Linked DNA regions of Homo sapiens: regions 1 and 3 are each linked to region 2. Evidence: promoter capture Hi-C in human tissues and cell types (Jung and others, 2019). All regions are on one chromosome and are shown on one strand. The core of a region is centred on a gene start or on the middle of the fragment in contact, and the rest is flanking DNA. Distances in the headings are between cores, read along the strand shown.

What was found. The method cuts DNA at HindIII sites, captures the fragments that hold promoters and counts their contacts. A contact is called where the count stands out against the background at its distance.
Region 1: a fragment that was not itself captured here is called in contact with the fragment with the promoter of ZHX1 in region 2 in 1 of the 25 tissues and cell types used here (dorsolateral prefrontal cortex).
Region 3: a contact is called between a fragment that was not itself captured here and the fragment with the promoter of ZHX1 in region 2, in 1 of the 25 tissues and cell types used here (dorsolateral prefrontal cortex).

What each region holds. Positions count from the first base shown.
Region 1 is chr8:124,479,217-124,483,991 of GRCh38, reverse strand. The region is part of intron 1 of RNF139 (ring finger protein 139); the gene reads right to left. Among named protein-coding and RNA genes, the nearest start is that of RNF139, 6.7 kb to the right of the region's middle. The HindIII fragment of the contact is 4,535 bases long and covers 1-3,875 here.
Region 2 is chr8:123,272,195-123,276,495 of GRCh38, reverse strand. ZHX1 (zinc fingers and homeoboxes 1) reads left to right here and starts at 2,210. Exons shown (of 4, transcript NM_007222.5): 1 at 2,210-2,279. It overlaps ZHX1-C8orf76 (ZHX1-C8orf76 readthrough), which reads left to right and starts at 2,210. Exons shown (of 6, transcript NM_001204180.2): 1 at 2,210-2,279. RefSeq lists an enhancer at 860-979 and silencers at 1,460-2,149, 2,350-2,549, 2,586-2,953. The HindIII fragment of the contact is 11,288 bases long and covers 1-4,222 here.
Region 3 is chr8:124,506,018-124,510,868 of GRCh38, reverse strand. It overlaps TATDN1 (TatD DNase domain containing 1), which reads left to right. Exons shown (of 12, transcript NM_032026.4): 7 at 2,181-2,266; 8 at 2,355-2,395. MIR6844 (microRNA 6844) reads left to right here and starts at 2,293; the gene lies at 2,293-2,354. The HindIII fragment of the contact is 3,251 bases long and covers 572-3,822 here.

The DNA of each region.
Region 1 (4,775 bases), core at 359-2,858, 1.2 Mb before region 2:
ATCTAAGTATAATCTACCCTATTACACATGTATCTATAACAGAAAGCAAAGATCCTACCCTGTCCATCTATGGATTCTACAATATTTTGTACAAAATAAGTACAATTAGTATTCATTAGGAAATGTCTGTCACATCTGGATGTTTTTAAAGGCAACCACAAAATATAGCCTGCTTGAAAAATAAAATCTATGTTTCAGACAATGAGAAACCATACCCTGGAGTACAGAAAAAGTGACAAACTCCAAATTAAAAATCCATCTTGGCTGGGTGTGGTGGCTCACAATGGTAATCCCAGCACTTTGGGAGGCTGAGGCGGGTGGATCACTTGAGGCCAGGAGTTCAAGACCATGTCAACATGGTGAAACCCTGTCTCTACCAAAAATATAAAAATATGCCAGGGTGGTAGCACGTGCCTGTACTCCCAGCTACTCAGGGGGTTGAGGTGGGAGAATCGCTTGAACCCGGGAGGCATTGCAGTTAGCTGAGATCGCACCACTGCATGCCAGCCTGGGTGACAGTGAGACCCTGTCTCAAAATACATAAATAAATAAATATTAAATAAAATAAAAATCCATCTATCCACCTTATTTCAGCAGGTAATCAAGACATTGCATATTATTACAGTAGACGCATTTCACAATCCACTGCACATATAAGCAAGGGCTAGTTCATTTAAGTGATGACTCTGTCCAGGGATTTAAAATGTATTCTGTGCCAAAATGTCAAGTCATCTGTGAAAAGGAAAACAAAAGGACACAATAAAGTAGAAGACATATAAACCTCTAAATACAAACCACCTGATTCCCCAAGAAAATGGGCCACTAATAATCCCCCAAAGAGTTGTGAGCTCAGAACAGGCTCTTTTAAATATATATATTTTTAATATATATATTTTTAAATATATATATATTTAAATAATATATATATATTTTTAATAGATATATTTTTAAATATATATATATTTAAATATATATATATATTTTTAATATATATATTTTTAAATATATATATATTTAAATAATATATATATATTATATATATATATATTTTTTTTTATATTTTTTTTAATGGAGTTTCGCTCCTGTTGCCCAGGCTGGAGTGCAATGGCGTGATCTTGGCTCACTGCAACCTCTGCCTCCCAGGTTCAAGCGATTCTTCTGCTTCAGCCTCCCAAGAAGCTGGGATTACAGGTATGTACCACCACTCCCAGCTAATTTTGCATTTTCAGTAGAGACAGGGTTTTTCCACGTTGGTCAGGCTGGTCTCAAACTCCTGACCTCAGGTGATCCACCCGCTTCGGCCTCCCAAACTACTGCGATTATAGGCGTGAGCCACTGCGCTCGGCCCTGAAAAGATTTTTTTATTAGAAACTTCTTCCATGGAAGGTAACAAGAAAATGGAATTAATTCAGCCTACCAGATGCCATATGTAATCTTACATTCTCTACATGGAAAACCACCTTATTTTCCTGAGACAAAACTTCAGAAACTTTAAAACAAATCTTCTAAGTTGGGTCAAAACCAAAACAAAATAACTCTAGTTCTACTTTATGCCACTTAGAGGGGAGAAAGTCAAGCAGGAACTGTAAATTATTTTTGTCAACTTGCTATTCACAAAGTAGTAAATTAATCTTCAGTAACTATTCATGAGCTTTGCCATAATTTTATAACTAATTTTTAAAATTCTAATAACTTTTTTCCTGAAGCTTGTTTTTACTACACACAAATGAAGAAATTATTTGGGTTTTAGAAACATTTCTAGTGAAAAAGTGCCATTTTGCTTTATGCAAATGTATCAAAGAAAAAAAGGGGAAGGCATCAGATAGACAAATAATGTAGTAAGACTACAACCTCAAAATTTGGATGTATCCCAGCAAGTAACAATCTGACAATACTCTATCCTGATTAAAATCACACCCCCCAAGATGTAATAGTGAGTTAACATTTCAAGAATAGTATATGTTTGTTTTAATTCCTACCCAAAGTTTGTAGGTATATGGGGTTCATAGATTTTCCTTTTATAGTCACGTTCCTACCTATGGAATTTGGGAAGAATCTGCTCTCATTTTAAAAACCAATATCCTAAGTAACAAGTCTCCAAAGTAATCATCTTTCTCATGGCCTTTGCAGAATAATATCAAAGTTTCACTGCATTTTTACATTAGACATGAAAGCCTTTCTTGGTATTTAAACTGTAGGTCTAAGAAAATATAAAAGTCCAGAGACAGTTTCTCATTAGGATTTGGAAGTGACTTGCACAAGTAATCAAGACTGTATATAAATGCTGCTTTATAAAAAATTTTGAGAACAGAATTTACTGAAATCACAACTCAGAGATCTCAGTCCAATTCTCCAGTGATTAAGAGAGTTCACTAGAGTTTTCAAGGTAGCCAAAAAGAGGCAGGTATCCAAATCAATTCAGGAACTTTGAAACTATATATGAACTCAACTCATGAAAGAGTTCAGGCCTTTTCAATTTGGATTACCAAAAACAGGCAAATAAAAACAAAAGAAAAAATAAAAACTTACTATACATGTTACATAACAAAGTGTTTCACTCTTTTATGTGTAAAGTCTATTCATACCCTTACCCTCTTTTGGAAACTTATGACTAAAAATCAGGGTACAAAACATAATATTTACAATTCTCCAAGTACCCGAAATACCTCTAAAACAAAAAGCAACCTGTGGAAAAACATTTCAATACCTGACAGAATAAATATGGAAAAGCACAGAAATAAATGTTACTACTACCTTACTCCCAAGGGAGCCTTCCGCAATGAAGTTTACAACAAAGTGTCTTGAAATGTTGTTAATCTGTTGGTATACTTGATAAATTATAAAGAAAACATTTCTATTGGATTCTCATTTTAGGTTGAAAAAAAACCTGGTATTCTAAGTATTAACACAAAATTAAACTTTTGCTTTTAAACTAAACTTATAATAAGTATGCTTTTATCAAAAATATATGAACATGGATTTTAAAAAGCCAAACCCTACAGAGAGGTGTTAAATGAAGAGTTAAAGCAAGTTTTTCTAGTTTGTCTTTCCCATCTGTGATATCATAAAAAAAATATTAATATTTGGTCTTTGTCCCATTTTCTGACATAGCTTCTAAAATCCTTGGAATCTCTGGAGTGATGACTGTTTTGTACAATAATCAGATGACTGGTGCCTGGGGGCCCCTAGATAGCTTCAGGATGGGGGCTAGGTAGCCAGGGGAATCAGCCCAGTGATTAAGGGTTATAACTTTGATTCCTACCCCCAGCCGCCACTTCTGGGAAGAAAGAAGCTGAAACTTGAGTCCATAAACCAATGACTAGTGATCTAATCAATCTTGCCTATTTAATGAACTTCCATAGAAGCCCAAAAGGACTGAGTTCTGTGAGCTCTCAGATAGCTGAACACTGAAGCTCCACGCCCCTTCTCCTCTTCTCTCCTTCTTTGTCTCACCTTGTACATCTCCTTCCATCGGGTTAATTCATCTGTGTCCTTTGTAATTGCCTTTATAATAAATGGGTAAATGTAAGTACAGTAGTTCCCCCTTACCCAAGATTTGACTTCCTTTTTTTTTTTTTTTTTTTTTTAGTGATGGAGTCTCGCTCTGTTGCCCAGGCTGGAGTGCAGTGGTGCGATCTTTTGATTAACATAGGTTTTTAACCTCAATATCATTCGGTTTATCAATCTTCATTATGTATTTGCTTTTATATATTTTTAAGGATTTCTTCCTTAATCTAAGATTGGAAAAATAAAATATTCCATATTTTTTTCTAAAAATTTAAAGTTCTGCATTTCATATTTACATATACATCTAGGTAAGAATACACTTAGAAATGACTATTTTTTTTTTTTAAGAGACAGGGTCTTGCTCTGTCACCCAGCCAGGCTGGAGTGCAGTTATGCAATCATAGCTCACTTGCAGCCTTGAACTCCTAGGCCCAAGCGATCTTCTCACCCCAGCCTCCTGAGTAAGATAGGACTACAGGCACCCACCACCAAGTATGGCTATTATTTTAAATATTTATTTTTGCAGAGACAGGGTCTCACTACACTGCTCAACCTAGAAGTGACTGTCTATATATTGACATAAGGTAGACATCTAGTATAATTTATTTCCAAAGGTGTAACAAAATGATCATTAATTCAACAGTCCATATTTACCTCAATGTACTTCAATTCTATCTCTGAAACACATTATTTCTATATATACATTGGTGTCTGTTTCTGGGCTATGTAATTATAAATAAGGCTAAGTACTAATCTATTTGTCTATCCCAATGGTTCTCAACCATGATTTGGCAATATCCAGGGACAGTTTTGGCTGTCACACTGGGGTGTGGGGGTGCAAGGTGCTACTGGCATCTAATGGGCAGGGGATAGTGATGCTGCTAAAAATCTTACAGTGCACAGGAGAGCTCCCATCCGCAAACAAAGAATTATCCTGTCCAAAATGTCAATACTGCCACTGTTGAGAAATCTCTGTCTATTCCTCTGCCAGTGATAATTACTTCGGCTTTGTTTTTTCACTTCAGAGGTTTTCTGAAGTCTTTTTCGGCACCAAAAATAGCTATCTCATTTCTTTCAAGAACTTTATTGCATGGCTAGACCTAATACAATGAACAGATTTGTATCAATACATATTTAGATTAAGTTTGTTGCTTTGTTATTTCCAGTAATGCTTGCCCATAGTCCTTAAGCAAACTATCTCTCTAGGCCAATTCCCTAGAATTGAAATTGTGAGTCAAAAGTTGTACGAGCCAGGCATCCCAGCTACT
Region 2 (4,301 bases), core at 961-3,460:
TGTAATCCCACCTACTCAAGAGGCTGAGGCAGAAGAATGACTTGAACCCAGGAGGCAGAGGTTGCAGTGAGCCGAAATCGCACCATTTCACTCCAGCCTGGGCAACAGAGCGAGACTCCGTCTCAAAAACAACAACAACAACAACAACAAAAGAAAACTTGTCATTAACTGTGTAGACAAAAGAATGAATTTCTCTATTTGAAGCATTTCCAGACCTCTTCCTCGGTCTAAAGAGGTTCCCAGCGAGGGCAGTACTGCCCCTCAGGGGCATACTGAAATTTTGCCGGGACAGTTTTTGTTTTGCATTCTATTGGTGGCAGAGTATTTACATTGTGAAAACTCTGTTATTTTAAAATTTTTCTTGATATTAGTACATACAGTATTTTATTATGAACTACTTTCTCCTTTTTCACCTTTATTAGAACATTACATTGGTTTCTTGAAATTATTTGTAGAGATAGTTTGCATTAGGAATTTAACTCCAGAAGAGTAAAGCAGTGTTATATTTTTTGTTGTAAATACAGGGCATTGAATGTGGCAGGGTTGAATACCTTTGCTTATAAAATTAAGCCTTATCCTACACAAGTTTTAGGATTCCAGGATGAAACCTACAAATAAAAAGAATATTGTAGAACACTGATTTCAACGATCAGATTCCACGGCCAGGCGCGGTGGCTCACTCCTGTAATCCCAATACTTTGGGAGGCCGAGGCTGGCGGATCACTTGAGTTCAGGGGTTCAAGACCAGCCTGGCCAACATGGCGAAACCCTGTCTCTACCAAAAATACAAAAATTACCCCGGCGTTAGGTGACGGGCCCCTGTAATCCCAACTACTCGGGAGGCTGAGGCAGGAGAATCGCTTGAACCCGGGAGGCAGAGGTTGCAGTGAGCAGAGATCGCGCCATTTCACTTCAGCCTAAGCGACAACGCGAGACTCCGTCTCAAAAAAAAAAAAAAAATCAGACTTCCACTTGAAGCAATTGCATCTTTTAGGATTAATGTGGCTCAGCGGAGCTCTGCTGTGCTTTTAGGATTACTGTGGCTCAGCGGAGCTCTGCACAAAGGGTCCGCGACTGGGATGGGGGTGGGGAGTGAACGTCAAGGGGCCCAGGAGCGCTCGAGCGTCCAAGGCCCGGCGTGTGGAGCAGCTGGAGGGTGAGTCGCCGCTCTCCGCTTTGGTTCTGTTCCTCCACGTTCTGACCGCGGTGCGGGGGAAAGGGAAAGTGAGTAGGGAGGGGCGGAGACGCCGGGCAGTGTTCCCGAAACCCCTGGCCCTCGCTGGCCCCGCTGCGGGGCTGGTTCCCTGAAAGCCGACGGGATGTGAAGCCCTCGACTCGGACAGAAGCCTCTGGAAGAGCGAGTGGCGGTTCGCAGGGAGGAGGGCGGCTGAGGGGCAGAGGGCGGCTCCGCCTTGCCCGGCGGTTCTGAGTGCAGCTGAACTGAACTTTCGGTGTCAGCGGGTGGAGCTGCGGCCCGCGGAGGAGCGGGGTCCGAAGCGAGGAGAGGTGGAGCTGCCGCTGACAAGGGGCGCGGCGACTTCTGTCAGGGCGCTGGGCTCCCGGCCGGACTCGCAGCAGCCCCCCGAGGGGCGGGGCCTGGGTCGTGTCGCCCCAGGGGATGGGCGTGTGATGACAAGGGGCGTTTCAGTAGAAGCCAGCATGCTTACCTCTCACGATCCAGCAGTGACATTAGGAAGGCGGAGCGCAAGGAAGGCGGGGCTGCCTTCTGTGCTGACCCGAGAGAAGACCAGGCTTCAGTCCACAGCGGGCGGAGCGGTCGCAGGCAAAGGGCGGGGCCATTTCGAGCCCTGGGAAGGCGGGGCGTCTCCTGACAGGGGGCGGAGCTTCCGCAGTCTGGGGCGGGGCTTCTGTTGACAGGGGGGCGGGGCGCCTCCCTACCTCCCGCGGTGCGCCAATCCCCGGACTAGGGGCCGGGGTCGGACCCCAGTGGAGTAGCAGGGTCTGGGCGTGGAGAGCTCGGCGCCGCACGGGGTGGGGGCGCGCGGAGGACGCGCGCGCGGGAGGGCCCCGCCTTGGCCGGCTCTCTCCCTTCCCCCTCCGCCCCCGGACGGCCGCTGGGGCGCGCGCCTCTCCTCGCACCCCCACCCTGAGTCCCCACACTCCGCGGGGCCACCGAGCTGCTGAGGCCCCTTTGCGGGCCCGCCGAGCGGTTCCGGGTTTAGGGTTCACAGGTCAGAGTTGACTCCCTGAAAAGTGCAGCCGGTTTGAAATGCAAGATGGCGGCGGCGTGGCGCTGAGAGGCGCGGCGGCCCCTGCAGGTAGTGGCGCGAGCCGGCTCCGCGACCAGCGGGCCCGGAGACTCTGGGCTGCGGGTGGGAACTGGAGCGCAGAGTCCGCGGCCGGCACGGGAAAGGCGAGTAGCGCGGGGCCTGGCGGGAGGAGGGCAGCCTCACAGCAGAGACCCCTGGGGCTGAGCCCGCTCGCGGCGGCGGGTGGCGGGGTGGACCCGGCGTGGGGCGTCCGAGGGGGAGGGACGGGGCCTGCCTCGCGGCTGGGTAGTCGCCGCAGAGGGACAGACAGACCCACAGCCTCCCTCGCTCTTTTTGGGTGTCTCCGCCACCGAAAGAGCTTGGGGGCGGGGGGCTCTCTGGAGGGAACATCTCAGCCCCCTGCCTTGGTGAGGACCCAGCAACTTAGGATTGTTGAGAGGAGTGAAGACTGCGTATTCCCAGCGGAGGGCGCCGCCGGAGGGAGCACCCCAGTAATGTTGGGAGTCCTAGAGGAGGTCAGGAGCGCTGTCCTCCGGGGGCGTGTGGCTGCCTCGTGGGGGACCCAGTCTCCCTGAGAGTAAGGAGAGATTCTCTTGCTGGAGCTGAGCGCACTGACTGAGGTTGGAGCCCCAGCAAACCCTTCAGGAGAAGTCTTTACCTCCAGTTCAAGGAAGGCTATGCGCACCCGTTTCGGGGCCAGGCCATGTCCCAACTTTGGGAAAGACTGGGAGTTGAGTCCTTAAGAACCATATTACGATTGTGACGAAGCCCTGGGATTTAGGGAGAAGTTAATTAAAGAGGATGGTAGGGGCGTGGGGGTGTGGGGGCTGACCCATGGGAATCCTCCAAGCCTTAGGGCCCACAGTGAACAATCTACTAATACCTCAAGGGGTATAAAAGGCTGGGAAGGAGAGGTGTGAGAGGAACAAGGTCTAAGGGCAGGAAAGAAGAGCCCTGGCAGATCCCCTTTCCTTATATATTTACACCAAAGTTGGAGGTAAAGGGACTTGGCAATTCTTTGTTTTAGTACCTTTCCTGTCCTCTCTCCTCCGTGGGTAACTGTAAGGAAAGAGCATAGCCCCTGAGAAGGAAAAGATTCCATTTGATATCCTTAGCTTAGGTTAGTGAAGGATCCAGCAGCTGGGAAGGCGTCAATGAGAGACAGCAGGCGGGGGAATTAGAACAGAGACTAGGGATGAGAAAAGAGGAATACAGGGAAGATATCGGACAGAGCAGGAATTCCACAGCCCTTTTCTGTCAACTCAGCCCAGCTATTAGAAAAAAAAAAAAATGCGAAGAGCTAATATTTGAGAGAAAAATGTAAAGGCTGAGAGAGAAGTCGTGATGTGATTAGGTTGGGATTCCATGTAACTTAAGCAGTTCTCTTGGAGGTTAATGTGATAGCAGAAAAAGGAAAATCACAAAATTGGAAAATATACAGCGGTTCACGGTTAGGGAGGAAGAAGCAGTCTCCCCCCAGGAACAGTGAATATTTGGTTTGGGGTGTGTGTGTGTGTTGTGTGTATACATATATAAGAGCACTTTAGATTTGCTGGTGTTGGTCATTGTTTCTCAGTCTTTGTCTGAAAGCTTTAATTTGTGTTATATGGTGCTACATTAATTATCTTCGTTTCTGAAAAATTATTCTGAAAAAGTCATTTGTTTTTATGTCGGGAGCGAAGGTGAGCAGGAGTTGGTTTTAACAGGGAAATTGGCCCTAGTATACCCATCGATTATTTTAATTTCTAAAGTAGCAATTCTGACTCCTGATTTTAAGCAAAAGAAATGTGAGTGCTGCCAATGACAATAATGCGGTAACAGGACATAAAAGAAAAAGGGCTTTCATGAATATTTTTTTCCTTTTAGCTTTTCTCTCCTTTCCCAAAGCATGTTAAGGCTAAGCAGACTAATTTTATACAAAGTAAAATGTATAATCGTGGACCTTTTCGATATAAAATGATAGCATTTCAGTTATCAATGAATCTTTTTTGTTGAAGTACCTCTTCAGACGCCTTATTTGACAATCAGGATTAAAATGAGAAAGGGTAATACTTGGGTAACTGATGATAG
Region 3 (4,851 bases), core at 948-3,447, 1.2 Mb before region 2:
GGCCCATTGCTTGGGCTTCTGTTATTTTCTTTTTCTTTTTTCTTTGAGACAGGGTCTCACTCTGTCATCCAAGCTGGAGTGCAGTGGTGTGATCATGGCTCACCGCAGCCTTGACCTCGCCAGGCTCAAGCAATCCTCCCACCTCAGCCTCCCAAGAACTGAGACTGTAGGCATATGCTACCACACCTGGCTAATTCTTGTATTTTTTGTAGAGATGGGGTTTCACCATGTTGCCCAGGTTGGTCTCGAACTCCTGAGCTCAAGCAATCCACCCACCTCAGCCTCCCAAAGTGCTGGGATTACAGGCCTGAACCACACACCCAGCTGGCCTCTGTTATTTTCATAAACTGTACTTTTGCCTACATTCCTATAGGAAGCTAATTTTCCATCCGACCATTAGATACTGTGAATTTGTAGCTTGGTCATGTGGTTTGGTCCATGGAATTGTGTGTGGAAAAAATAACCAGTACAGCGTGGAGCAGTGCACACAATGAAGAGTACCGCCTGCTGTGTGTAGTCAGAGCCAAATATATTAGTAAAGTTGACATAATGACTAGTGCACACTTAACTGCTGACATTTGGTTTACTTTAGAGGTTATGGAAATAGTGACTGGTTATATTATCAAAATCTCTTTTTGTCCAAGTTGTCGTTAATATTTCCTACACTGCAAAATTTCAGCACTTTGTTAATGAAAGGAAAATATTTTTGCTTATTCTAACCCAGCAGAATCTGAAAAGGAGATTTTAAAACCCAAACATTTGGTAATACAGACATAGACGACCTATTTTAGGAAGACTATTTCTATTTTTTTAATTTTTAATTTTTTTTTTTTTTTTTGAGACAGAATGTTGCTCTCTCACCCAGGCTGGAGTGCAGTGGTACAATCTCAGCTCACTGCAACCTCTGACCCTGGGTTCAAGAGATTCTCATGCCTGCCGAATAGCTGGGATTACAGGCATGTGCCAACATGCCGGCTAATTTTTGTATATTTAGTAGAGACGAGGTTTCACCATGCTGGCCAGGCTGGTCTTGAACTCCTGCCCTTGAGTGATCCACCCGCCTTGGCCTCCCAAAGTGCTGGCATTACAGGTGTGAGCCACCACGCCCGGCCTGAAGACTGCTTCTTAAGAAGTACATTTCTATTTCTAATTTTAAAATTTAGCATTTTCAAGAGAGCAAAGGGGGTAAAATAGTCCTGCACATCAGGAAATATGATATAGAAAAATATAGCAAGAGAGGCTTAAGTTAAACAGAGAAATTGTTTCCCCAAATTAAAGTGCTTAGAAGAGGTAAGCACATTTAAGAAAATAATAAGCCACCTGTTATCCTGATTCAGTTGAACCTACCATTTGTGAGAACAAGGGGGAGCACTGTGTTGAAGTGAAAAGACAAACAGAATGAACATTCGTTGTATCCTCTGAATATTGTCATTATACTCCGGGACCAGAAGGAAGCTTCTTGAAAACGTAACAGGTTTTTGTCGTTTAGGCTGGGACTTGGAATTAGAGCAGTGAAGTTCTGTTCCAAGTTGGCCATGCCAGGTATTGTTATCTTGGACAAAGTACTACACCTCTCTGACACCAGCTTTTATACTCAGGTTATTTTGAGGATCAAATGAGACAATGGTATCTGGTACTTGGAAAAACCTTCTTATCAAGTACTCTTTAAGATATTCAGGGCTACCACTTTATCATGTAATTTTCTTTTTTTAATAGCATAATTGAGTTATTTGCTGTTTAGCAAATACTTAGATTTCATTTTTGAGGGAAACCTTGTTCATTTTGCCCAGTGGCAATAACTTCTTTTATAACAGCACATAAAAAACTGGTTGCAAAATGGAATAGATTAGCATGCAGTATGAAGCTCTCCTGGGCTTCTCGCTTGGTGAGTTGACTCCCACTGATGGTGCTCCCAGTGGCAAGGGGCCAGTGGTGTTACTTTCTGAAAATTAAAGGGCCCAGATAATTTTGTAAGCCCAGAAAATGAAGTATTTCTTTCCAGAAGTTGTAAGTTATAAAAGCCCTTTGATAAGCCTGATGTGCTTTAAATATTCATGATTTTTGTCCTGTAATTTCTAGAGAATTAAATACCTTTAATTTAAAAGCTCTTTTGACATCATTACCTTCCTCATGCTAAAATACAATTTGTAATGAGAATTTTTTTTTTTTGCATTATGCAGATATTTTGAAAAACAGTTTGAACTGTCAGAACAAACAAAATTACCAATGTTTCTTCATTGTCGAAACTCACATGCTGAATTTTTGGGTGAGTTAAAACCAAAGTCTCATTCAGAACTTAAGAATTTTGTAGAAATCAAGCTATTTGCTAAAAGTTCTTTGTTTTTAATTCACAGACATAATGAAAAGAAATAGAGATCGGTGTGTAGGGGGAGTGGTAAGTATAAAATAGTCATTTTTAATACAGGTTGAACATCTCTAATCCAAAAATCCAAAATACTCCCAAGTACAAAATGCTCCAAAATCTGAACCTTTTTAAGCACTGGCATGAGATAATGACACCTTTGCTTTCTGATTATTCATTGTACACAAATTTTGTTTCACGCACAAAATTATTTAAAATATTTACCTTCAGGGTGTGGTATAAGGTGTATGTGAAACATAAATGAATTTCATGTTTAGACTTGAGTCCCTTCCCAAAGATTTCTTTTTATGTATATGCAGATATTCCAAAATCTGAAAAAATCTGAAATATGAAACACTTTTGGTCCCACACACTTGGGATAAGGGATACTTAACATTTATGTGACACACAAAGCATCTTGGTTATTAAGGATGGCCCCTAATTCAGATGTCAACATTTAAATTTTTTTTAAAAAGGAATAACAAAGAAAAACATAGGAATTAGATAGAATTCAATAGAATTAGGAGCTTCTTTTCCCATCCTTTGAAAGACATGTAAATTTACTGTTGAATTTATGGACCAGGTGTGGCATAAACACAAATCAGTTTTAATTACAGTTCCTTTGTTCAAAGTACAAGAATGCGTACAGAATTCCATTCACAAGAAAACCCTGTGAAATTTTTTTTGTTTTTTGTGTGTGTTTTTTGTTTTTTTTTTTTTTTGGTTATTAAGAAAGGGTCTGGCTCTGTCATCCAGGCTGAAGTGCAGTGGCACAATCTCAGCTCACTGCAACCTCTGCTTCCCCGGGATCAAGCCATCCTCAGCCTCCCAAGTAGCTGGGACTACAGGCATGTGCCACCATGGCCAGCTAATTTTTTTGTATATTTTGTAGAGATGAAGTTTTACTATGTTGCCTAGGCTGATCTCGAACTCCTAAACTCAAGCAATCTGCCCACCCTGGCTTCCCAAAGTGTTGGGATTACAGGTGTGAGCCACTGTGCCTGGCCCTTGAATTCTACACATCCTAATGCTGTGCATGATATTCTTCGTCTCTTCTGTCAGCTGTTCTTTAATGTTCTTCCATCCAAATTTTGAGCAAATATAAACTAATTTTTATGTTTTGAAATATTTTACCATTTGTTTTAGGTTTGCCTTTCTCATTTCTTGTCCGCTGTATTCACCTACTATTCTGATCTAGAGAGTCATTCTCCTTTCTGTAATTTGCATTCTGCACTAAACACTTCTCTGATATAGCCATTTTAGTCATTATTCTGGAGACATTTCCCATAAATACTATCTGCTAACCACATACCTCCGATATCTATGGCAGTGATTTTTTTTTTTTTGAGATGGAGTCTCGCTCTGTCACCAGGCTGGAGTGGAGTGGCACAATCTCAGCTCACTGCAACCTCCGTCACCTGGGTTCAAGCAATTCTCCTGCCTCAGCCTCCCAAGTACCTGGGACTACAGGTGCACACCACCACGTCCAGCTAATTTTTGTATTTTTAGTAGAGACGGGGTTTCACCATGTTGGCCAGGATGGTCTCGATCTCTTGACCTCATGATCCTCCCCCCATCAGCCTCCCAAAGTGCTAGGATTACAGGCATGAGCCACCTTGCCCAGCCATGATTTTTAGTCTCTTCGATCATGGACTCCTTTGGAAACCTGCCTTAGAAAAATGCTCAGATATACATATATTCATATGCAATTTCAGGAGAGTGACTCAGTGAGTGACTGTGTCTAGCAAAAGAACTGTAATCCAGGTAGATTAAATCACAGTTACACTATGCCTGCTAAGGAAAGAGGAAATAGCACCAAGCACTTGCATTCCCATGCGGCCTGACGTTGACAGTTTTATGCGTATTCTCTAAGTTCAACCTCTGCCTCATCTATACTACTAGTAATATGTATGCATCCTGCATTGCTGTAATGTTAATATTACTGTGCACTTTTTTCCTGTTTGTACTAACTCTGTAATTTTTTCCTGTTTTTACTTACTCTGTAATTTATCCTGTAGGAACTGTACTTAAGAATTGAGAGGGGTTTTAGTTTTAACTAATGCCGTTGGGATTATTAGTGGTATTTATCCTAACCTTCAGACTCTACCTCTCAGCCCATTTGCTTTATTTCTTTTCTTTTTTTCTTTTTCTTTTTTTTTTTTTTTTTTTTTTGAGACAGAGCCTTGCTCTGTCACCCAGGCTGGAGTGCAATAGCACGATCTTGGCTCACCACAACTTCTGTCTTCCAAGTTCAAGCAATTCTTTTGCCTCAGCCTCCCGAGTAGCTGGGGCTACAGGCACGCACCACCACGCCTGGCTAATTTTTGTATTTTCAGTAGAGACAGGGTTTCATCATGTTGGCCAGGTGGGTCTTGAACTCCTGACCTCAAGCGATCCACCTGCCTCGGCCTCCCAAAGTGCTGGGATTACAGATGGGAGCCACTGTGCCCAGCCTATTTCTAAATAAGAATTTACTTGGGTTCTATTAA